4 separate regions of the Homo sapiens genome follow, and all the other regions are linked to region 1. Evidence: promoter capture Hi-C in human tissues and cell types (Jung and others, 2019). All regions are on one chromosome and are shown on one strand. The core of a region is centred on a gene start or on the middle of the fragment in contact, and the rest is flanking DNA. Distances in the headings are between cores, read along the strand shown.

Region 1 (6,817 bases), core at 2,013-4,512:
AACATTTGGTTATACGGTTTAATCGCAAACTACAGATTTTTAATCTAAATGGTCATTTGAGTATTCCCCAGTTCTTCTACATCATAAAGGATTTTATGGTACCTTACTGCAGAGTACTCGATATCATTTTTGAAGAAATCATACTGTATCAAGTGAGCTACAATGTAACTGCAAAATGCAGACTGCAGTGTTGCTCTGCTGTGGCTCTGTGGCTTCATGATTCATTCATTTTTCCTCTTCTCTTGAGCCATTTGAGGGCTGGTATCTCAGCTCTAAAAGTCATGCAGAGAATGGGTGGAAAGAATACAAATGCTTCACTGGAGCCCGATTCAGGCTGGGGCAGTTGTTGTCAACACGATGAGGTTGAATGAAATGCAGTGACAGTGTGGTAAGGGAAGACGTGTTCTTTAATGCTGCTGGGTCCAGGGATGCCTTACCTTAAGGGTAAAACATTAGATACTATGCTTATCAACACAGCAGCCTGTCATTGCAGTGAGTTACACCTACAGCTTAAGGTAACCAAAGCTGTTGAAAGAATATTGTGCCTGCGTGTGTGTGTGCAGGTGCCCCATATCAAATATACATTCTGTTTTCATAGACATGCACAAATGTGTAAGAAAAACATATACATGTATAAATCTGTGATTTAAAATATTGTGTCAGTATTATTTACAGATTTCTTTCTTCTTAATGTAAGGTAAGGTATGTGGGGGTGAATTTTAACTAAGAATTTATTATTAACACAACTATGATAAACTCATAGGGAATGATTACATGAATATGTGTGTATATATGTGTGTGTACATACATATATATTCATTTAATTTGAACTTTATTTTTTTAAGTACATTTGGAATTCCTTGGAAGTAATAATATAATGTATATGTAAACGCCTAAATAATACCCAGGAGGTCACGATTTGACCTAAACACTCGCATTTGCGTGGGAATTTTATTGTGCTCACTTTTTTTTTAGAGGAATGCTTTGTCCTTTACAAAATGGACAAATACTCCCACTGTACTGCAGTTCCAGTTCTATAATCATTTTGGAGGCGCTCTTTACCCCGTGGTGACCACAACACGAAGAACCGTCCTTACCCACATGCTGCTTGCCTGGGGAGCTCAGGATCAGTGTCTTACACACAGAAGGATATATGCTCCCATTTTTTTTCCGCCGACTGTAAATGACTCCTATTCTTTGCTCCACAGAACATCCGATGTGGTGCCCAATCAGCTGAAAAAGCTGCACAGACGTCATTAGTTCCGTGTGTGTGTGTGTGTGTGTGTGTGCAAGAGAGAGAGAGAAAGAGAGAGAGGAGACTGCAGCTGCCTTGCCGCGTGCCGAGTGGAGTCTCCATTAGGGCAGCGCTATTGATTTCTGATTCACACTGCAGCAACAGGGCTAGAGCTCAGAAGAAAAAAAAATCACGTCTCAGAAACAGGAATTACAAAGACAAAAATAAGTAGATAGATAGTTTTATACAAAAATCAAGCATCTGTTACCAAAGGAAAGCAAAACTGACAATTTAGCAAAATTTAAAGACTGTTTATAACATAGAATAAGATGTATAGGAGAAGTAGAGTAAAATGAGTTTAGAAAAATTATTCGTTCTAATTTTTCAACCATTTTTTTGAGAGGTGATAATGGTCTAATTTCCAGAATGCCTTGAAAAACCCTGGAATACTCGGCAGAGGTGCTGCAAAGTAAAGCTTATTTGAGGGCAATCTTGAAGCTATGCCTGAGAATTTTAAACAACAAAATATCCAAGATTTATTTTTTCAATTGTGTTCGATTATTTTATTAGCTAGTAGCTTTCTCTGTTTTAATTCTCTGTGTTGCATAATATCTAGGATACAGTAACAGGCTGGTTGCAAATGCTCGAAACAGAAATAGGTTTCTTCATAGGCTGTGTTTCAGCATGTCCAACTGTGAGCCTGTGAAGCAGAGCATCGGAGTTCTCTCGAGGTCTGTTGCTTCAGATTTGGTTAGAAATTATTGAATCTGGAGTGTAAAAATCTTGTCTGGGCCTTTTAGGCAGCTTGATTTTAAAACTAGCCCTTCTGCCCCAAGACTTATCAACCGCCCCCCCACCCTGTCCCAAAAGAAAAGCTGAAGTAAGTTCAGTGTTAAAATAATGGTGCTGTCAGGCAGGCAGTCTGCATGTGAGCAGCAGAAAATTAGAAGAATAGAACCATCCATTCTCGTTTCCCCCCGCGACATGCACGCACACATACGTGCACACACACACACACACCACACACACACACACAGACAACACCAGTCAGTGAAGGGGGAAAAGGGTGATACCTTTTTAAAAAATGAAAGGCAGTAAGCCATTATTAGCAAGAGCTATATTGAGCATGCTTGCCAGACAAGCAGCAAAGCTGAGCTCCAGTTCCGCCCAGACATGTGCCTTGCCATTTTCATTTTAATCAGCCTGCTCAGGATGGCTGCTGATTCATTTTGCAGGATGTCCCCCTGGGAGCCAAGGTGGAAGCCTGAGGCGAGCTGCTATTGCATCAATGCAGCACATCAGAGCGAGAGCGCGGAGGCAGAGGGAGGAGAGAAAGCCTTCAGCACCGCATCCCGATTTCAATATGGCTAGTTAGAAGGTCCTGCATGAAACCGAGTCTATTGCAGAAAACATAATGAAAGGAAAGGAAAAGAAAAAAGTCACATTGTCATTTCATTATCCAACTATTCTCTCCCCCAACCCCTTCTTGCCACCAACAGACACACACACGTACACATTTTACAGTGACCATGAAAGATTTCAAGCCACTCTGTGGAAGTGTGTGTGTGTGTGTGTGTGTGTGTGTGTGTGTGTACTATTTACCTGGTAACTAGCTGGGGTGGTATACCTGATTTAGCTGGAGACTTTGATTTGTAGGACTGACAACCTTATTATGCAGTGAGTTTATTATTGATATTATTCTGCTCTCGGTTGCCATGGCCACCTTGTGAGAGACATTCAATTTTCTCTCTTCCATCATCATTATCTATGAGGCCATCTGTTGTGGAAAATGAATTCAGCCTCATTTGCATGACTGATAAGCAATTTTTTTTTTTATCTATTTAACAGAAGGTCATATGCCGGGGATTTGGAGCTTGTGAAAAAAAAATGTGGAAAAAAAAAAAAGCCTAGGAGAGGATGAGTGGGAGCGTGTGCATGGGGGTGTGTGGAAGTCAAACAGATCCCTGAGGCCTGCGAGCCTATCGCGCTGCATTTGTCATTCCTGCCCGGGCGACATTTTTTTTTTCCCTAAGCTACTGCACACTAAACAGTGAGAGAGCTTTTCCCTGCAGTCTTGTTGAAGCACCCCGGGTTTTTTGCTCATTGTTGGTGGGTGCATTTTAATTTTTTCATTCCCTGGACTATGGGTTATGATATCCATACTCACTGAAGACAAAAAGCCACCTTTTCTGCGTCTTGGTGGCATGCATGTGTCTCATCATCCTTTCAAACTTGTGGTGGAACAGGGTTTTCTTCCCTGTCTGTGTATTTTGAGCCAGCACAGTTACCAAAATTGAACTTGTCTTTCGCTTGTGAGCGGTTGTGGTCATTGTGAGGTACGTGATGTTCGTTAGGTTAATTTTTCGGGGAACTTAGTGAGCAGGATGTGTTTTACCGTAGCTCAAGGGCTGAGGCTGCTATTCCATTGTCTGCTCCTTTTTAAAGTTATTTTTACAGCATGGCTGGTAGCTGAAATGTTCCTGGACTGGAGGCTTTGTAATCCACAAAAAAATCTGTCTTTAAACTAAAATGGGTATTAGGTTGCATGACTTAACTGTGATGTTGTTTATTAAGAAAAAAAGAAACAAAAACAAAACGGGGTGCATGTATGGTGTTTGGAGGATAAGAGGATACTGAAACAAAAACTTCCCAGAGACTTTACTGGATTACTTTACATTACAAATGAAGCACATCATTTTATGCAAAGGCAATTAAAATGTTAGCTATTTTGGATGAATTTACCTGATGGTAAGAAGAAAGTTGATTTATATTGTTTAAGTGGAGAAACTCAAATAAAGATTTTTAAATTTAACTTAAATGTTTGAAGTTCATAATAATGAAAGAAAATGTTATTTATAACAGAAATATGTCTTTTTGTAACACCTAAATTAATAAACTAAAAGATTAAACTCTACACTTTAGTTTTAAGATAGATCTGAATAAAGCAAAAATATATATGTAAATATTTATATGAAAGTTAGCTATATAAAATATAGAGAACAGATTTTGAATTTAGTATTAACCATGACAATTTCTTGTACCATCAAAGCTATATAAGCTAAATAATTTCTAAGTTACTTAGAGTAAAACTATTTTATATAAGAGCCTTTTTGTTCAAATGTTTATATTTTCTACTAAACAAAATTAACGTCATAGACCAAAGCATCCCAAAACCACCCTTACTGGCATATGAGGGTCTTTCTAATTGTTCATCTTCATTTAGTGTCATGTAGCTTTAAAAATAATAAAGTCATGTCTCCCATACAGATAAAAATGTAATTATTTTTAAAAGAAAAGAGTTTTATAAAATATTCCTTTTCAAAAAAAAAAACAGCATTGCATTCCTATAAGTTTTCACCTCTCAAGAACTTTGAATCCAAAGTGTTGATTGTAAGTTATAAATGCTACTAAGAGAAACATTCCAGAAAAAAAGGAAGTTTGTTTTTTCTGATTGACCTAAAAGAACATGTATGATTCTATCACCTCAAATGCAGTAAGTTAATTGCTTAAAAGTCTCCTTAAAGTTATACTTGAGTGATAAATTTTCTTTATTAACTAACATAGACCACTACTGATGTGTGTGTGTGATGGTACTTTACTTGATTGCACTTTGAAAACTCTTACCATACTATCATACACTTTTCATAAACAATAACAGTTGTTATATAATCCTTCTGCTTTTAATCAGCCATATTTCTTTATATTTTAGCTTGATTTTCAGAGAAATAAGTTTATTTTAAATATTAATTGTGCATTTAAAGAATTTAAAACAATAAAATTCTGATAGATTATGAAGATTATTTAAAGTGACATCAGCTTTCTCAGAGGACTATAAGAATCAGTAATATGAGATCTGGATCTATATTATAATATGAAGGATTATGTTGTTGTCTTTTGATCTGTACATATAGTCTTCAGATTCGTGAATCAAAATTATCAACATCTAAAAAAACCTATGAGATAGCACAGTTGATTTTTCTCTCCTCCCCACCCCCACCCACAAAAAGTTAATTACCAATCTTGGTTGGATTCTTCCTTGCCTCCCTGACATTTGACTGCTGCTAATTCACTGATTAATCTCATTAATGTGATTATAGTAGGATTTAGAGTTGGCTGCCATTGTTCTGTAGACAGTGCTATTCAGGCTGAGCACTTGCCACCTCATTCAGTTTTGCTGTGATTTTTCAAAGGCTGGTGGAGTGAGCTATTGTGAGCAGGCTTCTCTGCCTTCCCTTTCAGCACCAGGAGCTGTCCGCAGCTGATAGCGATTGCATTCAACAGTGACTGACTTCCTCCTAGTTTATTGGCAATGTGAAAATGGCTCACTTTCATCACCTTAATGATTGTGCTAGTTGAGGTAGAAGTAGGAGAAGCCTTCATGGTCACATTTGGATGTTTTGAAGATGGTGGCAGCAAAGATATCTATACTTGAACATTTTTATTTAGTAAAGACTTTCCATCTGCCATTATACACATATTTTACTCTATTTCCAAATATTCAAACATATCAATATGTTAAAAATTACTTGTATATATGTATAGTTGTGGGTTGGAAAATTGTAAACATTATTACTTTTCAACTGGAAAATTTTATCCAAATACATGTAATTATTAATAAAATTCATCTTTGAAAAGATGCACCAGGACTATCTGGTGTCACAGTAAGGTAGAAAGTATGCATGACACACAAATTTCAACTTCTCTTGAGTTAAACTTGCATCCAACAGCAGAACTTATGCCAATTTCACAAATTTGTGTTAGAAGCTGAGATCAAGGTAAAGGCCCAATGATTTGTGACCACATATGAGTGGTGTACAAAAATTATTAAAGGAATATGAGTACCTAGTCTTCTTCGGGGTTATAAAAGCTGTCAAAGCATGACCTTAGGACTATGTGGATAGTTTCAGAGAATGAGACTTCTTTAATATGCTGTTTTCACTGTCCCTGTTATGTTTTTCACCTAATTTATTTATTTATTTTTTACTCTCTTGAAAATGTTTCTATTTTGTACCTTACTCTTGAATATACCCAATTATTTCACTGTCTGATGTTTTCTGTCTGCTTTCTGTGTCAATGTTTAATAGATTAGGGAAAAGAAATAAGTGATTATGCAATTTCAAAGATTTGTAAAGTTTTTCTATTTGTTACAATTATACTTAAAATTAAAAAATTGAGTTAATAATCTGATTATTTGTTCAGCTGCTTTTATAAATACTTTACATTTATAATTTTTAAAAGCCAATTACTTCTCTGTGAAAAATTAATTTTGTCAAGTAAATAATGTTTTCAAAGTCACATGCATAAACTAGATTTCCAACTCTACCTGTAAGCCAATTTAATTTGAGGGAGAGACATTATTTTAGAAATACATAATATACAATCTGAAAGACTTTGTTTACTTGTTATATATTTTAGTGGATACATTTTAACTTCAAACAACTTAAAGGTTTATTTACCCTTAAATATTTTATATTAAAAAAAACTCCTCTGTGGAATTAGAGGGACTAGTCAGATGCTCTTTGATAATGACCACTCTGCTTTGCACTTACAGTTTGGTTTGGCTGGGTGTCCCTTTTAGACCAG
Region 2 (6,817 bases), core at 1,451-3,950, 440 kb after region 1:
TTGCCCATTTGAGTGCAGTGAGTTGATAGGCACATCAAAAGACTCTTGACAGTTCAGTCACCGACTAAAATTCGGTACCATCCACTTGGCGTCATCTAGTTGTAGCATCTTATGAATTAAATATCTGGGAAAGTCAATGCATCGTCACATCTACATTTTATAACTTCAGGATAATTTAAGGTGATTCAAGTAAGATGAGAGGAAGAAATGCAGAGAGTCGTTTTAGTTAAAAATTCTTTCAAGTAAAATGTTGTCACATAGAGGTAGCATTTTTCTTTTTTGTTTCAACTTTTATTTTAGATACAGAGGGTACCTGTGCATGTTCATTACACGGGCATATTGCACCCAGGTAGTGAACACAGTACCCAAGAGGTATTTCTCCAACCCACTCCCCTCTCTAGTGTCCACAGTGTCGATTGTTCCCATGTTTATGTCCCTGTGTGCTCTATGTTTAGCTCCCACTTACAAGTAAGAACATGTGGTACAAAGTTTTCTGTCCCTGCATTAATTCATTTAGGTTTGTGGCCTCCAGCACCATCCATGTTACTGCAAATGACATGACTTTAGACTTTATTGTTTTTATGGCTGCATAGTATCACAGAGTGTCTATGTACCGCATTTTCTTTATCTAATCCACCACTGATGGGCGCCTAGGTTGATTCTGTGCCTCTGCTATTGTGAAGAGCATGGTGATGAGCATACGAGTGCATGTGTCTTTCTGGTACAACGATCTATTTTCATTTGGGTAAATCTCAGTAACAGGACTGCTGGGTCTAATGGTAGCTCTGTTTTAAGTGCTTTGGGAAAACTTCAAACTACTGTCCAGTAGCTGAACTAATTTGCATTTCCACCAAGAATGTATAAGTGTTCTCTTTTCTCCACAGCCTCTCCAGCATCTGCTGTTTTTGGCTTTTTAATAATAGCCATTCAGACTGGTATGAGATGCTGTCTCACTGTGGTTTTGATTTGCAGTTCTCTGGTGATTAGTGATGTTGAGCATTTTATCACATGGCTGTTGGCCACTTGTATGTCTTCTTTTGAGAAGTGTCTGTTCATGTTCTTTGCCCATTTTTAATGGGGTTATTTGTGGTTTGTTTGTTGAAGTATTTGTTCCTTATAGATGTCAGATATTAGGCATTTGTCATCTGACATAGTTTGTGAATATCTTCTCCTATTCTGTAGGTTATCTGTCTGCTCCGTTGATAGTTTCTTTTGCTGTGCAGAAGCTCTTTTGTTTAATTAGGTCCCTCTTGTCTATTTTTGTTTTTGTTGCAATTGCTTTTGGAGACCTAGTCAAAAAAAATATTTGCCAAGGCCAGTGTTGAAAAGGGTATTTCCTAGGTTTTCTTCTCAGATTTTTATAGTTTGACATCTTACATTTACATCTTTAATCCATCTTGTTAATTTTTGTATATGGCAAAAGTATGGGTCTAGTTTCATTCTTCTACAAATAGCTCAGCCATTATCCCAGTACCATTTCCCCACTGCTTGTTCTCATTGGCCTTATCAAAGATCAGATGGTTGTAGGTGCGTGGCTTTATTTCTGAGTTTCCTATTGTGTTCCATTGGTCTGTGTGTCTGCTTTTACACCAGTACCAAGCTATTTTGGTTACTGTAGCCTTATCGTGTACTTTGAAGTCAGGTAGAGTGTAACCTCTGGCTTTGTTCATTTTGCTTAGGATTGCTTTGGCTATTTGGGCTCTTTTTTGATTTCATAGAAATTTTAGAATCATTGTTTTTCTAACTCTGTAAAGAATTACGTTGGTAGTTTGATAGGAATAGAATTGAATCTGCAGATTGCTTTGGGCAGTATGGCCATTTTAACAATATTGATTCTTCCAATTCATGAACATGAGACATTTTTCCATTTATTTGTGTCGTCTCTGATTTCTTTCAGCAGTGTTTTGTAGCTCTCCTTGTGGACATTGTTCACCTCCTTGGTGAGCTGTGCTCCTAGGTATTTCCTTTTCTTTGTGGCTACTGTGAATGGGATTGCCTGCTTGATTGATGGTGAGCCTGGATGTTATTGGTGTATAGAGATGCTGGGGTAGCATTTTCTAATTGATAAGATACTGAACTCTCCCAGACAAACACATCGTTGATGGCAGTCGAGGCTCTTTGTGGACGTTGGGCAGCCTCAGTCTCCACATCTGTGAAGCAGGCATGTGGTAGCATCTTACAGGGTGGTGGAAGTCTAGATGCAATCCTGTTGGAGGATGCTGTGAGCACAGTGTAGCAGGAGTCACTGTGAGAGGGGCTCATGACGAGAAGTCTCTGGGCGTCAGCGGGAGCTCCTGCCACACCTCCACACCCACACTCCTGAGCATCGCCCTCACCAACGCTGAGTGCAAGGTTGCCAGCCGACCTATGTCAGCTGCCGTTGTTTGTTGCATTAACTTGTGTTATTCCTTTAATTTTTTTTAGGAATTGAAATTCCCTCATTTCAAAACAAAAGTGTTATTTTTTTTAATTTATGTGGGCAATGTTTTTTTTTTTCCTAAACCAGTGGCTAGCCCTCACTAGTAAAAACAAAACCCCATATTATTATTTCATTTCTCCTACAATTATTCTACTATTTCTTAACAAAATTGTAAATTATGTAAAATCACAACCTTTAGTTCATATCCAAAGTATCACAAACTGCAAACTGGTTTGTGACGGTTGCTTAGGGTGGATCAAGGTGTGCACTGCACAGGGCCCGTGGGGGTGCCCTTACAGCCTCTGCTGTCTCCCTCTGGTTGACTCCTTTGCAGCCCCACGGTGGTCTCTCTCAAAGGCCCTGGTGTGGGCCTTGCTCAGACCAGCAGCCACTGCCCACCCCGCCCTGCACTGCTGGGCTCCCTAGAGGAGGGGCATCCCAAAGTAGAGAGAAGGGAGGGGCACACTGAGGGACACTCAGACACGCTTCTCAGGGACAGCTGTGCCCCACCAGCCATGGGCCCACTCTGAGTGGCTTTGCTCATTCAGATTAGCAAAACACAGTCATAATATCAACAGATTACTATTGTATTTCATGGGTTTTGTGGGTGCGGATTTGAGCCTCTGGCTCATGCACAGGAATCTGGGTGTAAAGCGGTTACTTGCTTGGGGAATTCTCTGTAGCTTTTGGCAGAGGCTGAGACGAAGACAGCCTGGCCAACTCCCAGCCTGGGCACTGTCCTCAGTCTTCCTCTGCAGAGGCCTGTGCATTACAGAATCACCAATAACACACCTCTTCCCCATGTCCTGAGAGCCTTCAGTCCCAAACCAAACCTTGTCAATGAGGACTCCTTCTTTTTTCCCTTTGTATCCAAATCCAGGGCAATTTCTTAGCATTGCTCATAATGACCGTATCAGCAATGTGAGAAAGCTTTTTGCTTCACTTAGCTTTGTTCTCTTCTTCCTCTGTGGGAAGGAGTCCCTGGGGAAGCCTGGCTCCAGGTTCAGAGCTGCTGCCGATGGCACAGAAGACACCGCAGGAGCCATGACCAACTGCGAGGTCTCCCTTTCCTTGTAGCAACAGACAAAACCATAGTTTCCATCAGAATTAGGCAGCTTGGAGCTTTGCCGATTAGGACTAGGGCAGCCCTAAGCACCAGGAGAACCCGGGCTAGAGTGTCTCTAGCCTATCACCAAGTTCTCCCAGCTACACTCACAACGGTCCCAGGGAAGCAGGCGGGGATCTCTTGGGGAAGAAGGTGCTTCCTAAAGGGAGGGGCTCACTGACGGAGGGATTTAGGACATGGGAGAGACCAGGTCCACCTCTGAGTAACTCTTCACTCTGCTGGATTCCAAGAGAAATGTCTGGCCATGCACAAATGAAGTCCTGTGACATTAACTGGCAGGGATAACAATTAGTAAAGAAGGACCCATCGGATAAATCCTGGACTGAAACATTGTCATGTACTAAAGGAGATTTAAATAGCTCTAACAAATAACCCTTGCCCCTCAGTGCTGGTTTGGCTGTTAGTGAGTGTGGTGGCTCAGAAAGGATTACTGGGCAGTGGGAATCGTGTCAGTGAGGGTCAGTGCAGGGAACAGAGAGGCCGTGGCTATGAAAGAGGCAGCTGCACACGTGCCCCGCGTGTCTGCCACCACCAAGTGGCCACTCAGGTGTTTCGACATTTATCCTGAGCTTATTCTCTATGTGCATTTCCCCGTTTCACTCCCATGGCCTGTATCAGAATTCTAGAAAAAAAAGGATGTTGGACTCACCCTATCTGGTCTGCATGCCCAGCCAGAAATCCACCTCCCAAAGCACGTGGTCCCCACAGGCCCAGAAGGTGGCTGCCGGGGCCCCTCTGGCTGAAAGGAACAGCCCACCTCTTGACAGATAAGGGACCGCGGATCCAGGTTGGGTCACCAAAAGTGCTCACGAGCCCTCATGTGCTGCGGAGGAGCCCCACTCACGCTTAGGGCCTCGACTGGGATTTGACTGGGCTGGAATTCCCAGTCACTTCCCTACACCCTGCGGCTCCTAAAAGCTAGCCAGCCGTGTGTCTGTCTTTCGAGGGACCAGGTGACCGCCTGTGCTGGGTGTGAGGTGCAGCCTCTCCAACAGGTCGATGAATTATCCTCCAGGGCAAAAAAAAAAAAAAAAAGGAAAAAGGAAAAAAGAAGAAAAAAGAAAGGAGCCGGAAAGTTTTGTTTTGTTTTCGTTTGCCTGTTGTTTGTTTTCTTTACGCGTAAGCCCCAGCACCCTGAGGGCCGTCCCACGCGGCTGTGTGTGGCTGAGGCCGGGGCGGGCAGGCCCTGCCGTGTGCTGTCTGCCGTGTGCCCTGCGGCCGGGGCCTGAGTCATCCCTGTCCCTGTCTCCCCAGCGAAGCGGTACTGCAAGGACCCCAGCCCCAGCAGCAGCAGCACCAGCAGCTACGCGCCCAGCAGCAGCAGCAACCTGAGCTGCGGCGGGGGCAGCAGCGCCAGCAGCACGTGCAGCAAGAGCAGCTTCGACTACACGCACGACATGGAGGCGGCCCACATGGCGGCCACCGCCATCCTCAACCTGTCCACGCGCTGCCGCGAGATGCCGCAGAACCTGAGCACCAAGCCGCAGGACCTGTGCGCCACGCGGGTACGCGCGCCTGGGCAGGTGGAGCCACCTGGCGGGTGGGGGAGGCCGGGCCGCGGACCCAGCCACCGAGACACGCGGCGCTTTCGGGGCAGCTGTATGGGGCAAACGCCGTGATCTCCTAAACCATTCTCGCCACTGTGAACAATTAGTGCAGCTTCCCTTAACGCAGCCTGAACACACCATTGTCCAAAGCGCATCCATTTTCTAAATCAGAGGCAAGGGTCAGATCTTGTAGATGAACGTGCGTGAATGGATCCTTCTCTCCAGGATCCAGAAGCATTTCTGTAAACAAAGGACACCACGTGGGCCTCCTGTGGTCTCCAGTGACCGCACAGAGCATGCAAAACGAAGCGTGGGTCTCCTTGAACTTTGACAGGAAGTTCTGCTAGCACCATTGTCACGTGAAATGCAGGGATCTGCCTATGGACTCCTGGGTAGCAGGGAAAGGAAGTAAAAATCAGACTTCACACCAAGGGATCAGCCGTGTATTTACAGCCAGCACTCGTCAGTTCCACATTTTCATGGATGCTATAGTGCTATGAAAGGCATAGGAAGAGTGTCTATTTTTAATTTTCTTATCAATTGAACCAGTGCTTATGCTGGGCAGGAGAGAGAGCGTTTAAGATGCAGCACAGACCTGGGAGACAGCTGCCTCGCCGAGGCCACCAGGCGGCTGGGGAGAACCAGGCGGTGCCAGGGAGCGGTCAGATTGTGTTCTCAGAGGAGACGCTGAGCAGCGGACATGTTCACCTCCTCTCCTGATAAACAAAGGGCTCTCCACTGTGTAGCGCTGCCTGGCCATGTACCTGAGTGGACCACACTGACAGTGGTTCTTGTAAATATTTGTAGTTGGTATGAATGAAGAAAGGTCAGTAATCTTACGTTTTGCAAATGTTTTTTTCTTCTATCAGTATATTTAGTCCTAGATATTGGAGAAGAGTCAGGTGCATGCAGTTTTCATGGTGATCAAGGTTGCAAAAATGCAAGGTTAGCATGGAAGAGATTCTGTGGCAACCACAAAAAAAATAAAATAAAAGGCAGAGACCCCTTCCAAATTTTGTTGCACTTTCTTAAAATTAAACTAAGACTGAGAGAATAAATCCAACATTATAAAGCTTAAATTAGTATCAAAGCTTCAAATCAGAGTACACTTTGACAAAGAGAGTTCAGGCAGAATGATACTGTATAATTTATCAAGGTAACAGCTCCGGGGATGGAGGTCTCATTCCAAGCATCTTCCTTCTGCTGTTGCATCCAGAGGAGAGAGCTGCTAGACCCTTGAGGAGGCAGCAGCTTTCAGACCAGCTCTGAAATCAAATTTTGCTAAGGAGAGTGTCACTCTTTGGGGAAAAACATGCAGGATTGTTAGGGGTATTCTGATTTTTTTTTTTTAACTTTCTGTCCATGTGTCCATTCTTCTGACTCTCTTCCTGAGAGGCAAGTGCTGCAGAATTATTGATGCATTTCAAAGCATCATTTAAAAAATGAAAGAGCCTCACCCTGTACCTCTTTGGGGTTTTTTTTTAAGCCAGTAGACTAAATTGCAGGTTTGCTGAAATCTAGAGATCAGACGGTAATCACTGTAGTAAAGGTATTTTTAGCTACAACTGCAGATCTTCTTTCGTAAAGTGGAAAATTATCTTCATTATAAAAGTTCTTATTACAGCCAGGCGCAGTGGCTCACACCTGTAATCTCAGCACTTTGAGGGGCTGAGGCGGCTGGATCACTTGAGGTCAGGAGTTTGAGACCAGCCTGGCCAACATATA
Region 3 (6,817 bases), core at 2,998-5,497, 360 kb before region 1:
TGTGCTGGGGTGGGGCACCGCCATTATTAATGGCATAAGGTGGTGGGGTACAGGCAGGAGCAACTTGGAAATGGAAGCTCTGTGTCTTCCTTCGGGCAGCTGATTGCACTGGCTTGTCGAGAAGGTGTGGGTGTCTGGAAAGCGCCTATGAGGACCAGTAGTCAGGGGGCCAGCAGGAGCCACGGTGAAGAGAGACTGTTGCTAGTCAGGGAGCCGGCAGGAGCCACGGTGAAGAGAGACTGTTGCTCGGGGTCTCCCAGGATAGACCGAGTTGGGAACTAACTAGGTGGTCCCCATTGCCATGGAGACAACCTTCCCAGACAGCGATGGGGAATGGTGAACAGTCCACGAGGGAGACGCCGATTCAGGCTTCAGATGCAATTTCCTGGGATCCCTCGCTTACATTTTCTGCTCTTTGCTGAGTTCCGCTTTTCTCTCTATGTCTCCTTTGTTTTCTATTGTGTATTCTCTCCTTCTGGGGAGGAAGTGTGGGAAGCAGTGAAGAGGTCCTGCTCTGGAGATGAGGAGCCGGGTTGAAGGAAGAGTTGAGCACAGCGGACCTGGCAGGTGGGGGTGTCCAGAGAGGCTGTGGCTGTGCAGAGCAGCCGCCTGGGGGAGGCGTGCAGAATTGAGTCTGAACACATGGCCTTTCTGGTGCATCCGGCTAGATTGGGAATGTGTTGGTCTATCTCCCTTAGCAGCCCTGGTCCAAGGAGTACAATCAGAGAGATATAAGCCAATCACTCCAAGTTGTCATCTTTCTCTTCACCGTGCCTGGAAGAGGAAGGTAACTGTTTTGGTTTGTTAGAAAAGAAATACCAACCCAGCAGCTGAGAGATTTCCCCAGTGGACAGGCCTGTGTTTGGGAAGGAAAGTTAAAGCCAGTGGATTTCTAGTTCGCTTGTTTTCTCTAACAAGATATCAGAAGGGCTGCAGAATCCAGTTAATCCATCCAGTGGTATTTTTGAGATGAGGTAGCAGGTGCTTCAGAGCCAGAAAGACAGACTGTGGGTGGCTCATCCAGAGGCTCACTGAGGATTCTGCACCACAGATCTGTGTCCAGCAAACAAAGGAGCTGGGGTCAGAGCCAGTGAAACACAGGACCATTCCCCATTCAGTCTGGCAGATATTTGCTGAGACCTATAACAGAAAAGGTCTTTTACAGAGGTGTATGAAGTGGGTCCCTTGGCAACTGCTGTAATGCCTCCATACTCCTGGGTCAGAGACTGAAAAGAACTCAAAGATCTCTGAGAGCAGCATCCTGGGCTGCTGTCATGGCAATTCATGTACAAACGTTTGCAGAGTGCCCACTCTGTGACAGACACATCTCTGCAGGAGGATCCCGGGCATGGACACAGGGTGGGAGGTTTCCAGGATAAGAGTGTGCAGCTGTCAGGTGGCTTCATGGAGAAGTCTACACCTGAGCTGAGTTGGGAAGAATGAGTCAGACTTGGCCACAGGGAACAGGGAGGTATCTGTGTCCTGGAATGATCTGCAGGAGGAGAAGGAACCCACGTGTTGACTCGGAGCTGTCCTGGAGGGCTACCCATGGAGGGACCTCAGAAAAGTCTGGTCCCATGGTGCTCAGACATGAATTATAAACCATGAAGCCCAATATAAAAAACTGAGAAGATTGGGCCACTTACAGAAAAGGGTTGGGGCTCCAGAGCCCTGCCCTCTGGTCTAATCCCAACCTCTCAAGGCCCTGAGGCAGCTCTGGGAAACCCGACTATCTACAGAGCGTGGTCACCCTTACAGAGCCCGATCCCTGATTCTCACGAGTGGAGAGCTCATCGGTGCCGTGCCTCGCTCAAGCTCAGCGTATTGGTCTGTTTTCATGCTGTTGATAAAGACCTACCTGAGGCCGGGTAATTTATAAAGAAAAAAAGAGGTTTAATAGACTGAAAGTTCCACATGGCTGGGGAGGCCTCACCATCATGGCATAAGGTAAAGCCACGTCTTACTTGGTGGCAGATGAGGGAAGGAGAGCCAAGTGAGAGGAGAAAGCCCTCAGAAAACCATCAGACCCCGTGAGACTTACCCACTTCCATGAGAACAGGACGGGGAAAACCGCTCCCATGATTCAGTTATCTCCCACCAGGCCCCTCCCACAACACATGGGAATTATGGAACTACAATTCAAGATGAGATGTGGGTGGGGACACAGCCAAACCATATCAATCAGGACATGACAGTGGCAGACCTGGGCCGGGGTTGGAGCTCTCTAGATGGGAGGCAGTAATGCCTTAGTTACCTTTGTGAGGGAGTGAGAGAGGAGGGTGTGAGGGGGGAGTGAGGAGAGGGAGTGAGAGGGGAGGGTGTGAGAGGGGAGGGAGTGAGACAGAAGGGAGTGAGAGGGGAGGGAGTGAGAAGGGAGTGAGTGAGAGGGGAGGGAGTGAGAGGGGAGGGAGTGAGAGGGGAGGGAGTGAGAAGGGAGGGAGTGAGAGGGGAGGGAGTGAGAGGGGAGGGTGTGAGAGGGGAGGGAGTGAGAGGGGAGGGAGTGTGAGGGGAGGAAGTGAGAAAGGAGGGTGTGAGATGTGAATGTGTGTGGGAGGTTAGGGTGTGGGAGGTGAAGGTGTGAGACATGAAGATGTGTGAGAGATTAATGGTGTGAGCTTTTGAGAACCACGGGTGTGAGTGACGAATGTGTGTGACAGGTGATAGTGTGAGAGTTGTGGGTTTGACCAGTGAGCCATTCCCATCTTTCTCTGCTCATGCCCCTCAGGTGCTATTTGGGGTGTGGTCTCACTCAGGCAGACCGCCTGGAGCCTGCAGTCCTGGATGCTGGCCTTCAAGAGCCACTCTTTGCTTTATGTGGCCAGGCTTTGCCTAGCTGATGGTTCCTGGGACTTGAGCTTAGCAAGGTGGCTGTGGACAGGGACCTGGGCCGTCTCCCTGGTCTGGGGTCATCCCCGTGCCAGAAGCCAGCTCATGGAGATTGGGGCCAAACAGGAACAGTGTGAGTAGGGAGGAGAGAGGGTGGTGTGAACTCAGGGAAGAGGATGTAGGAGAGGAGGCAGCAGATGGGAGGCAGAAGGCAAGAACAGAACCAGAGAATGTGCCGGACTAAGCTCCCATGGGTGAGGCACCCTGGAGGATCCCACCCAGACAGCAACAGCCCATGCATAGAGGGTGGGGGAGTGAGGAAAGCAGCCCATGCATAGAGGGTGGAGGAGTGAGGACAGCAGCCCATGCATGGAGGGTGGGGGAGTGAGGACAAGCCTACCAAGCAGTGGTCAGGGCTGCCTGCTGCACTCCACGGCTCCTCCCCATGCTGCAGCCCCCAGGTGTCACCCAGCACAGTGGCCTGATGAGACCCTCCCACCTTTCTAGCAGTACCTAGGCCAGGTGGGGCTGGAACATCGAATGGGCAGGACAGCCGGATCCCACACCCGAGCAGCCACAGCGGTGGCTTTGAAGTGGCTTGTGAGCCACATCAGGCACTCAGGCTTTCTCCACAGACGAGGGCCTTGGGGGTCTTCCTAGTTGATGTCTCCCCAGGGCACCTGATTGGGAGGAAGACAACTGGCCCCTCATGAGCGCTGTGTCCCCGGCCACAGAACTAGTCAAGAGGGCTCTGTCTGAGGCTGGTGCCCTGGAATGATGGACACAGAAAGCCCTGGAAACGCCCCTCTGTGTCCTGGTCATTACTGTCCCCACAGCCCCATCCCTGGCTCTGAAACTTCGAAGGCATTAGTTTTACATCAGGCAGGCTCTGGGGGAGTTCTGTTCTCCAAATGCACCTGCTGAGATGGATCGGGAGGGTTTCGGGTAAGCCCTTTGCTCTGGGCAGAGCATTGAGGAGCTCTGGGGAAGGTCCCTGCCCAGGCGGAGCCGTTAGACGCCTGCTCCCTGCAAACCGTCACGCGCAGGGCGTAAGCGCAGCTGGCAAGCACATCCCTACTTCAGAAAGGGTTCAGAAAACAAGCATTGTCTGAGGATTAGGAGCACCTGACTACCCACACGGTTCAGCGCCACAACATCCAGGCTGTCAAGAGGAACTGTGGGAATAAATAATATTAAATGACAATTTGGCTGACAACAGAATGGGGTCATAAGAGCCATCAGCACTAGTTAATGGGAGGCTGTGAGGGTTCATTAGACCTGATACAGGAGGTTTGACTTGAAGTAATGGGGCAGATTGGAGGAGGAAAAAGTTGGTAGAATGATTAGGAAGAACAGGCGACGAGCTCTCTCACTCCGCGGGAAGTTGTCCCTGGAGGTGCGGTGGAGTTTCCCGAGATGCGGAAGATTAGACCAGGCAAAGACATAACATCCTCCGGGGATCAATTCTGCCTTGGCAAAGAAATGATCTCGATGATCGAATGCCTCTCCCGTCTCTGATTTAATGACGAGGTGCCCAGCAACAGAGAGGCAGAAGATATGGCCTCGAAAGGGAATGGGGAAATTATACTGTGAGGAGACTCAGGGTTGTCCCTCAATTTTTTCCTGTGCCGTGTTGACCAGGACACCTTGTTCTGTTAACCACTGAGTTCCCATTCACTATTTTCAAGGATTTCAAAAAGCCGTCCCCCTGGAAGACCATTTGATTCAACAACAAACGTACTGTTTTTTGACAAAGTGCATTGTATCCTTGCTACTCTAAGAGGTGAAGCATCTCAATTTGAACATGAATATTATCAGGAGGAACCAAACTACAAACTCGACACCACGCTGAGACATATAGTGTGGAGTGTGCAAGGGGTCTAAGAAACAGGCCCCAGTTGTGTGCCCGGTTCACTAAGGACAGACCTGTGATGTGTCTGGGTCTCCCTCACACTGAGAAACCGAGAGAAAGTAGGATATCAAATCACCAATGGGAAGAATGAGAGAAATTGTCCAAAACCAGCACAGGCAGCCTAAAGTTCATCAGCCCCGTGAGTGTGGTGGGGCTGGGAAGAGGCTTGCGTTCGTGGCCAGGGATGTCAAGAGAGGCCCTACATAGGGAGGAAGCAGGTGAGAGGAGCTGCCAGGAGGTTTCCTGTCACCTGTCAGTCATCCACGGCTGGTAACAAATGACCACAATGCAGTGGCATAAACAGTATTTATGATCTTGTAGTTCCTGTGGGGCAGGAGTCAGAGCTCAGGTTAGCAGGGGCTTTGGTTCTGGTCTCACAAGGCTGCAATTAAGACGCTGACCAGGGTGCATTCCCCTCTAGAAGCTCGACTGTGAAAGAATCCACCTCCATGCTCACATAGGTGGTTGCAGAATCCATCTCCTAGTGTTTGCAGGATCACTGGCCCCAGGTCCTTGCTGTCCATCATTTGGAGGACACCCTCAGTTCCTCGAGGTCATTCTCAGCTCCTAGAGGTCATCCGCAGTTCCTTGCTGGCAGGTCTTTCTTGCTTCATCAAGCCAGCAAGGAGAACCTCCAGTGTGAGTCTCCTGGAGAGGCGGCATCCAGGGTAGTGCAGTGTGATCACAGGCATGGTGTCCCTAACCCCTGCAACTGGCACATTCTGCTGAGTAGAAACCAGCCGCAGGTCCCATCCACCCTCACAGGGGAGGAGAGGCTGCCAGGGTGACAGTGCCAGGAGGGGACTGCCAGGACCCCCTTAAAGCCTGGGCTCCAATCCTGACAAACGTCCATCCTCAGGACATGCAATTCTAACTCTCATAGTTAGGTTTTCAGTTGCAATAATATATTTTAAAATATCAAGCTTCTTTTGAGTTTTACTCCTAAAAAATCTGAATAACCTCTTTTAATCTAAACAATTTTTCCTGCTAATTGTTAGTTTTATTCTACTAAAATTTGTCCAGTAGCATGTTTTCATGCACCATGTAAAGACAATTTTTTGAAGAGGACTCTCTCTCCCATAAGCTCCTGATCAGCTGGGGGTGACAGGACATCAAGGAGCTGTTTGTTCCCCCAGGATCCTGCCTCTGTCTCCAAGGCTGGGAGGTAGGTGGGGCCTCTCGAAGGCCTGCTGAGGAGGGAGGCGGGCCTGTGGGCTTGAGTGGTTGGCAGAGTGCGGGGGGTGGGGGGCCTGAGACGGATACATCAAACTGTGGGTCATTTATCTGTACTAATTATGTCATCAGAAATGCAGGTGAAAAAGGATGCATGAAGATAGTTTATTTTTATTTTTTAGTTTAAGTTCCAGGATACATGTGCAGAGCGTGCAGGTTTGTTACATAGGTTAACGTGTGCATTGTGGTTTGCTACACCCACTGACCTGTCCTCGAAGTTCCCTCACCTCGCCCTCCATCCCCCAGCAGGCCCTGGTGTGTGTTTATAAGGATGATTTCCTTCTCCCTAGCAAGACTTCCATGTGACAGGTGGAGGCCTCTTCCCACGGCCAGGCCCCTGCTTGCAGCTCTTCTCACTCCTGGCTCCTGCCTTCTCCAGGGCCCACGCTGGCTCCTGCATCCTCCACCTCAGTCACCCTGGGCCCCTTCCTGCAGGCACATCATGTGCTTATGTCTCTCCCACTTAAACAGCACATTAAAAAGTAAGAACAGGGCCACATGCGGTGGCTCAAGCCTGTAATCCCAGCACTTTGGGAGGCTGAGGCGGGCGGATACCCTGAGCTCAGGAGTTCAAGACCAGCCTGGGCAACATGACGAAACCCGTCTCTTCCAAAAAAAATACAAAAAAAAAAAAAGAAAAAGTAAAGTAAGAACATTTCTTGGTTCCCTTGCCCGCTCCAAGTGCTGCTTATTTCTTCTCTTCACATCCTTCCTTCCTGAAAGAATCATCTATCTTCTTCCTCTTCATCTGCTATCTCCCCTCAGATGGAGTCCCTGCCGTCCTCTCTGCCTTCCTCTTCTGTTCTTCCTTCATCCCACGTTTCCCTGAGCTCAGCGATGTCCTCT
Region 4 (6,817 bases), core at 1,841-4,340, 340 kb before region 1:
GTTGACAGGCCACTACCTCAGCGGTTTCAAAGCTGTTGTTAGAAAAGGTTATCCTACATGGGGCAAACCCTCAGACTTATATGGTGACTGAGAAATGCACCTCACTGGCCATGAGAAAGAGCAAATTTGCCAAGATTGGCCCATATTTCAACCCTTTCCTTGTGCTTATCTCCAATCTTCCTTATTGGCAGAAAGAACAAATGGCATTCTCAAAACCCAACTGGTGAAATTTGAGGAGGCATTACAGCTGCCCTGGACAAAGGTACTTGCTCTGGTCCTTTTGAGTCTAAGGTATGCACTTTTTGGAAAACATAACTCGTCACCTTTTGAAATTATTACTGGATGGCCAATACATTTAGCCCACTCTGCTTTTAACATCCAGTTCATCAAAGGAGACAGTTTCCAACATTATCAAGGAATAATTAAGGCTTTAGACGCAAATCATACTCTGGTAGAACAATCTTTCCATAGTGTGCTTCCAGGAGATGAAGGCAGCAAATAGAACAACCTGCCTCCTGGTGATTTTGCCTTTTGGGAGAAAAATTTACAAAATCATTGCCTCAACCTCAATAGAAAGGTCCATATGAGGTGCTCCTTGCCCATTTCTGTGCTGCCAAACTAAAAGGTTCACTCTGGATTCACACTTCTTATTTAAAGGAAGTTCCTACCCCTGCTGGAATTCAGAAACAATTAGAGGCCTGAAGCTAAAATCGACCTAGGAGTGGAGCAGAGAACAGCTAAAGGTGACCACACACCCAAGACCCCTGGGCCAGGCCTGGATATCATTAAGCTCCCGGAAATACCTGAAATACTTGGCTTCTTATCTGTTGCTTTCTCTATACTCCTAGTTTTTGTCTTTCACTCCCTTGCACAACAGAATTACTTTAAATTCTATCTTGCCCTAGTGCTGTAGCCAGTACCTCGTGTTATACTGGAATAAATACATCTAAAAAAGTAGAGCCCGAGTTGGAAACATTCTCACTACTTAGCTAAATAAAGCATTCACCATGGAATATTCGGCTACTTGATCTCTTCGGAAGGTGGCTAAAATCCAGTCTTCAGCTTTTGTTACTCAGTCTCGTGACTATTGCTGTTATTTTTGTAAAACTTAAGTCACTTCTCCTTATCCACGTGTGCTTAGAAATCAGTTTAACCAAAGTAACAGTCCTTAGAAGCACGATATGATATTCATCAAGCATATGATGTGGAAAACACATCTGATCTGACAATTCTGGGGACCTAAGCAGGCTTGACAGCATTCCTTTCAAAACCACCTGTTAACTCAAATGTAACACAGTCTAGTCTTACATTTCCATAGGCCTAGAGACCCCCTGATAAGGAACGTGACTCCCTGGGACAGGTATATCCCAGCGACAAAGAACAAAATCAGACTCACCGGTTAATCTGAGATGCCTTCTGGATAAAGATCTTGATCAAAAGGGGAACATGTGGAAGGTGAGGTAACTAAGGCTTTCTAAAGAGGGGTTGGAAGATGGTGACAGCATTGCACCCACACCTGCTAGATGCTCCGGTAGACTTGAGGAAGCAACTGAAGTCACTGTCCCCCAGCCTTCTACAACTCTTCACTAGGACCACACTGATTATCTCACCAAGCAGAACAGGTTTGCAGTTTAGGATCTCTGCCAAGCCAACAAATGGCCATGTTGGAGACAGGCACAGCCCTCAGAACTGACCATCATCTCTTCCGGAGGATACACGAGTATCCGTGTCCAGTCCCAGCTGCAGGACTCACAGAGTGACCCTAAATGCAATATAAACCTGGCTTCCTTAAAGGTTTTGCTTTTTCAGCTTCCCTGAGATTTTTGGCGTTGCCATGGAGCGGCTGACTTAGGCAGCGCTGGCGCAGTTGCTTAACTCTCTGGCTGTGCAGCTTCTTGTCCACCACACGGTGATGGGCCATGTGATTACCAGGCCACGGCCAGGACCTGGGGACAGCGGGGCTGAGTAGGACTCAGGGCCTCATCAAGGAAAGGCCTCGAAAACCAGCTTTTTGTGAAAATCCCCTTCCAAACCCCCTCACGCGCCTGCCTCGCAAGACGCTCTTCAGGGCTGCCCTGATTCAGTATATTCAAATGGCAGTTCTTTGTTTCTCAGATCAATGCTATTTCCTTGGGTCTTTGTAGCCATCTGTTTTTTTTTAGTTAGTAATGTGTTTCACCCAATCCGCCCTTTCAGCTGCTGCTCCAGGGATCTGTGCCTCTTTGCAGTAAAACCCTTGGGTCATCCTGTGAATTCCAATTCCTCCCCTTCTTTTCTGTCTTAAACTCACTCCAGCTGGACTTCTGCCTCGCCCAGGCCCCATGATGACGAAGGCCCCATGCGGCTGCCCTTCTGGGACTCCCTCAGCGTAGTCATGGCCCATTGTCCCTGGAAAGCAGGACTCACCAGCTCGAAGAACATGGTGCCATCTTGGTTTCCCTTTGAACCCACTGCTCATTCTCAGACTCCCTGCTGGTCCTTACACATCTTGAAGACCTTTTAACTGTGGCCCTTTTGACTCAGGGCTCAATGTTTGGTCTTCGTAGCATTTCCCTCCATTTTCAACGATGTCTCTCTGACGAGGATTCACCAGCTGATAGATGTTCTCCAGCTCACACCCATTCCTGCTCTGTCTACCTCACATCCGGCCTGAGTGTCAAATAGGCTTTTCCAGCTTCGCCCGTCCGGAACTGAAGGTACGATCTTCCCCCTGTGAAGTGCTTCTTCCACAGCTCCCTTAAGGTCCTTCTTGTGGCTTTTCTTTTTTTTTCTTTTTTCTTTTTTTTTTTTTGAGACAGAGTCTTGCTCTGTCACCCAGGCTGGAGTGCAGTGGCGTGATCTCGGCTCACTCCAAGCTCTGCCTCCCGGGTTCACGCCATTCTCCTGCCTCAGCCTCCCAAGTAGCTGAGACTACAGGTGACCACCACCAAGCCTGGCTAATTTCTTTTGTATTTTTTTAGTAGAGACGGGGTTTCACCATGTTGGCCAGGATGGTCTTGATCTCCTGATCCATCTGTCTCGGCCTCCCAAAGTGCTGGGATTACAGGCGTGAGCCACCACGCCCAGCCTTCTCATGGCTTTTCTGTCTGCCTCGAATTCTTCCCCCAGAGCCTGTTGGATTCTTTCCCCCATCCTTGCAAGCTTTCCCTCAAACACTTCCTTCTCAATAGGGGTGACGTGGCCACCCTCGCTGACTCTGCTTATCCCCCACGCTCACCTTCCTGGGCCTCCTGGACCCCTCTGCTTCCTCTTTCTTTCACAGCACATTTAACCTTTAACAAACTCTATGCTTTCTCATTCATTCAGTTCACTCTTCATTGTCTGTCTCCCCCAGACACTGCAGGCTCCACCAGGCAGGAATTCCTGTTGTGTTTTTGTCAGTATCATGAGCAAATAAGGTCGTGCTGGCTCTGGGGTTGGGTTGTGAAGTTGGATTTGGGGTGACAGGGTGAAGGAGTAAACTCAGGTAGAGGTCAGGTGATAAAGAACCCTGAAAATATGGAAATAGACTGGAGGTCGATTCTGGGGAACCATAAAGACAGTGAAGTGAGGACCAGCATTGTTGGACTTGACTCTGGAGAGGTGCCTGGCTGCAGTGGTGAAGGAACGGGAGATGGCAGCCTGGGCTGAACCAAGATGGAGAGCGGGAGACGAACTGAGCAGAACTTTTCAAAAGGCAGCCCAGCAAAGGCATTTTGCCTTGTACAGCTGGCTTCATGAAAGGCAATTAAGCATGAATTAGAGGAGGAGAGACCGGCTCAGTGTCAGGGCGACCTGCTCCATTTGGGCAGCTCCATCTCCGTGGGACAGTGCAGAGCCCTAGGCTTCTCCCTCTTGCACCGGCCAGGCACTCTGTGGCCTCCTGGTCCTGCTGTGTCATGCACACCACCCATTTTCTCTCTGTCTCATATTTTTGTTTTCTGATTTTAAAATGTGTACGATGGGGACAAGATGAAGTAGTATTCTCATGGTAGGCGAGACATGAATCTTCCTTGAAGTGGCACACATAGAATGAATGGGGGGTAACTGGCCCATGGAGAACACTCGATAAAGCTCAGGGATGAACACGAGCTCGGCAATCCTGGAGTTGGAATGTGCTGCCGTTAGCTCAGAAACACGAAGCTGAGATCACTGAAGGACGCAGTCTCAGCCCAGGGGCTTCAGGGGTTGGGGGATGTGGTCCCAGGTCAGGGGCTCCAGGGGTTGGGGGGCTCAGTCCCAGCTCAGGGACTTGAGGGGTTGGGGGATGTGGTCCCAGGTCAGGGGCTCCAGGGGTTGGGGGATGTGGTCCCAGGTCAGGGGCTCCAGGGGTCGGGGGATGTGGTCCCAGGTCAGGGGCTCCAGGGGTTGGGGGACTCAGTCCCAGCTCAGGGACTCAAGGGGTCGGGGGATGCGGTCCGAGCTCAGGGGCTCCAGGGGTGGGAGCGGCCACAAACCCCTCTCAGGCTTGGATGAAGGGCTGGGGTGTGGGGCCCCAGGGGTCCTGCTCTCCCTCTGTGACTCTGTCCCTCTTCTCGGACTCCCACCTTCCACTGCTGCCTCTCTGCTCTGTCCCATTCTCTCGTTTTTATAGCTCAAAAATGTTCCACCCTCTCTGGGTCCCATCTGACTTCTAACTTTTCTCAGTTCAAGCATCCAGAGAAGCCAACCCACACCTCTGTGTTCTAGTTCCTAGTGACCAGGAAAGAAACTCAATGGGCCAGCTCCCCCAGGCCGCTTGGCCAGGCAGGTCCGCAGGCCTGTGGCCACTGTCACCAGTCACGCTGATGAAGGGTCATGAGGCTCAGGGCATTGGAGGCCACTGCCAACGTTGGCCCTCGGGCGCTTGGAGCAGCTAGAACCGGCCCTCGGCTCCAGGTCCTCACCTGCAATTTCACGGTCAGGAAAGCCCTTGGCTCCGGGTCCTCACCTAGGTCTTCCTCCCACCTCGCAGGGCAGCCCTGTGCCCCGGCATGTGAGGCTGAGGCACGTGCCTGGGACACTGTGCGCATGGGAAGGGACGTCATTAAGTCCTTCAATTCCAACACCGTGGAGGAAATCCCCTAGGATGCGTCCTCCCAGAGATTCGGGGGCCCTGACTCCTCGCTGCATGAAGGGGCCTGAGCCCACCTGAGCCAGGGGCAGGTACATCCTGTTTGCTCAGCCCTGCCCTGCAGCAGCTACCTGACACCCGTGTCCCACCACCGGGCCATGTGTGTGCTGGGGCCTGACTGGAGCCCGATAAGGGGGGTGGGGGGAACAGAACCTGAGCTGTGGCTGCTCCACACAGAGATGCAGCAAACCCGCTGTGGCTGCACCTGGACCAGGCGTCGCCCCAAGTGAGGCTCCTGCCGTTTCCCTGGGCTCCGTGAATGCAGCTTCACTCCGAGCTTTGGCTGGCAGCAGCCCCTTGGACACCTCCTTGATCCTCGGGGCCCTTCTGTGAATCATTCTGACCCCTCACACGCCGCCAGAATCACCCGCGTCACCCTGGGTGAGACCATCAGCAGTTCGCAGGCCTGTCCTGGAGGTCCCACACCAAGGGAGTACTCAGGGCTTCCTGGCTGGAGACACTGCTGAGACCCCGGGAAGCAGGCTTGGCTGCAGGAGAGTGAAGAACGGAGGATTTGTATTTCGCACGTAAAAAGCCAAGGCAGGAATGAGCCGGGAGTGTACGGTGTGGGGGAAGAGGGAGCACAGCCCACGGGCAGGCAGGGTCCGCACTGGAGGCCATGGGTGTGGGGCCCCTGGCCACTGAGGGTGGAGGGGTTGGTCGAGTTCCCCTGGGCCTGTCGGGACCACTGGGCATTGGCCAGAAGTTTTTTTGCAGCCACAGAGGCAAGGGTGCCATTCTTTTGAACAAATCAAGATTCCGCTAAGCGAATGACAGGTGTGGCCCACTATGGCCAGCAGTCTGCAGGGCTGGTCTTCTGCATGAGGGAGGCCGTTTTTGTGGAGGCCGAGGTGGACAATGACTCCAGGCAGCCCTACTCGGCCGCTTCTCTGGCCTCCGCAATCATGTGGCATCTCTTCAGGTGACAGTTTTAATCAGGAACAGACAGAGCTCGAAGGGTGCTTCAGTTGCATTGTGAAGATGACCTGGAATCAGGAGCACTCATCCAAGTCTTCAGATGCACTGAAGAGAGAGGGGTTAATCATGACTGCAGTTTCCATTTCAGTGATGTGCATAGCGCTCAGAACTGACCATCCTCTCTTCCAGAGGATACTCCAGTACCCGCTTCCAGCCACAGCTATGGGACTCACAAAGTGACCCCAAGGTAACATGAACCTTGCAACCTGTTTTCTTAACTTCACTGAGGTTTTCAGCATTGCCAGGGAGAGGTTGACTTAGGCAGAGCTGACACACATACTCGATGCACTGGATGTCCAGCCTCTTGTGCACTACACAGCGGTGGACTGTGTGATCACCAGATCACAGCCAGGTGGCCTGGCCAGGGCTCATGGCTGGGCCAAGTGGGGAGAAATTAGAGGGAGCTGTCTGGTGGCAAGTGGCCAAGTGGGAGGGGAAGGGACTTGGAAGGTGCCTGAGCTCTGAGACTGAGGCTGGCATCCAACCTGGAAGAGCCGAGACTGATGTCCTGCACCAGGTCAATGTGCACCTGAGCTCTCTGTGCAGGAAAAGAACTGGGCGCTGACAGGAATTCTGCTGTGCAGCACCTCATGGTTAATCGTGACAGCAGCCCTGTGAGGCACTTGTCTTCACTATTTACAGATAAGACATCCGAGGTTCAGAGAGATTAAGCTGTATCACCTGGGAGATGTCAACCACATTTCAAACGCGAGTCCTTTTCCTCCAGGGCTGCTGTTTCCCATGGAA

What was found. The method cuts DNA at HindIII sites, captures the fragments that hold promoters and counts their contacts. A contact is called where the count stands out against the background at its distance.
Region 2: a fragment that was not itself captured here is called in contact with the fragment with the promoter of MYT1L in region 1 in 1 of the 25 tissues and cell types used here (hippocampus).
Region 3: a fragment that was not itself captured here is called in contact with the fragment with the promoter of MYT1L in region 1 in 1 of the 25 tissues and cell types used here (H1 embryonic stem cells).
Region 4: a fragment that was not itself captured here is called in contact with the fragment with the promoter of MYT1L in region 1 in 1 of the 25 tissues and cell types used here (dorsolateral prefrontal cortex).

Annotation. Positions count from the first base shown.
Region 1 is chr2:2,327,720-2,334,536 of GRCh38, reverse strand. MYT1L (myelin transcription factor 1 like) reads left to right here and starts at 3,262. Exons shown (of 25, transcript NM_001303052.2): 1 at 3,262-3,570. The HindIII fragment of the contact is 11,173 bases long and covers 1-6,817 here.
Region 2 is chr2:1,890,270-1,897,086 of GRCh38, reverse strand. MYT1L (myelin transcription factor 1 like) reads left to right here. Exons shown (of 25, transcript NM_001303052.2): 15 at 4,800-5,050. Among named protein-coding and RNA genes, the nearest start is that of PXDN, 150 kb to the right of the region's middle. The HindIII fragment of the contact is 6,948 bases long and covers 1-6,174 here.
Region 3 is chr2:2,686,582-2,693,398 of GRCh38, reverse strand. No RefSeq gene overlaps it. Among named protein-coding and RNA genes, the nearest start is that of MYT1L, 360 kb to the right of the region's middle. The HindIII fragment of the contact is 4,500 bases long and covers 1,998-6,497 here.
Region 4 is chr2:2,667,540-2,674,356 of GRCh38, reverse strand. No RefSeq gene overlaps it. Among named protein-coding and RNA genes, the nearest start is that of MYT1L, 340 kb to the right of the region's middle. The HindIII fragment of the contact is 4,186 bases long and covers 998-5,183 here.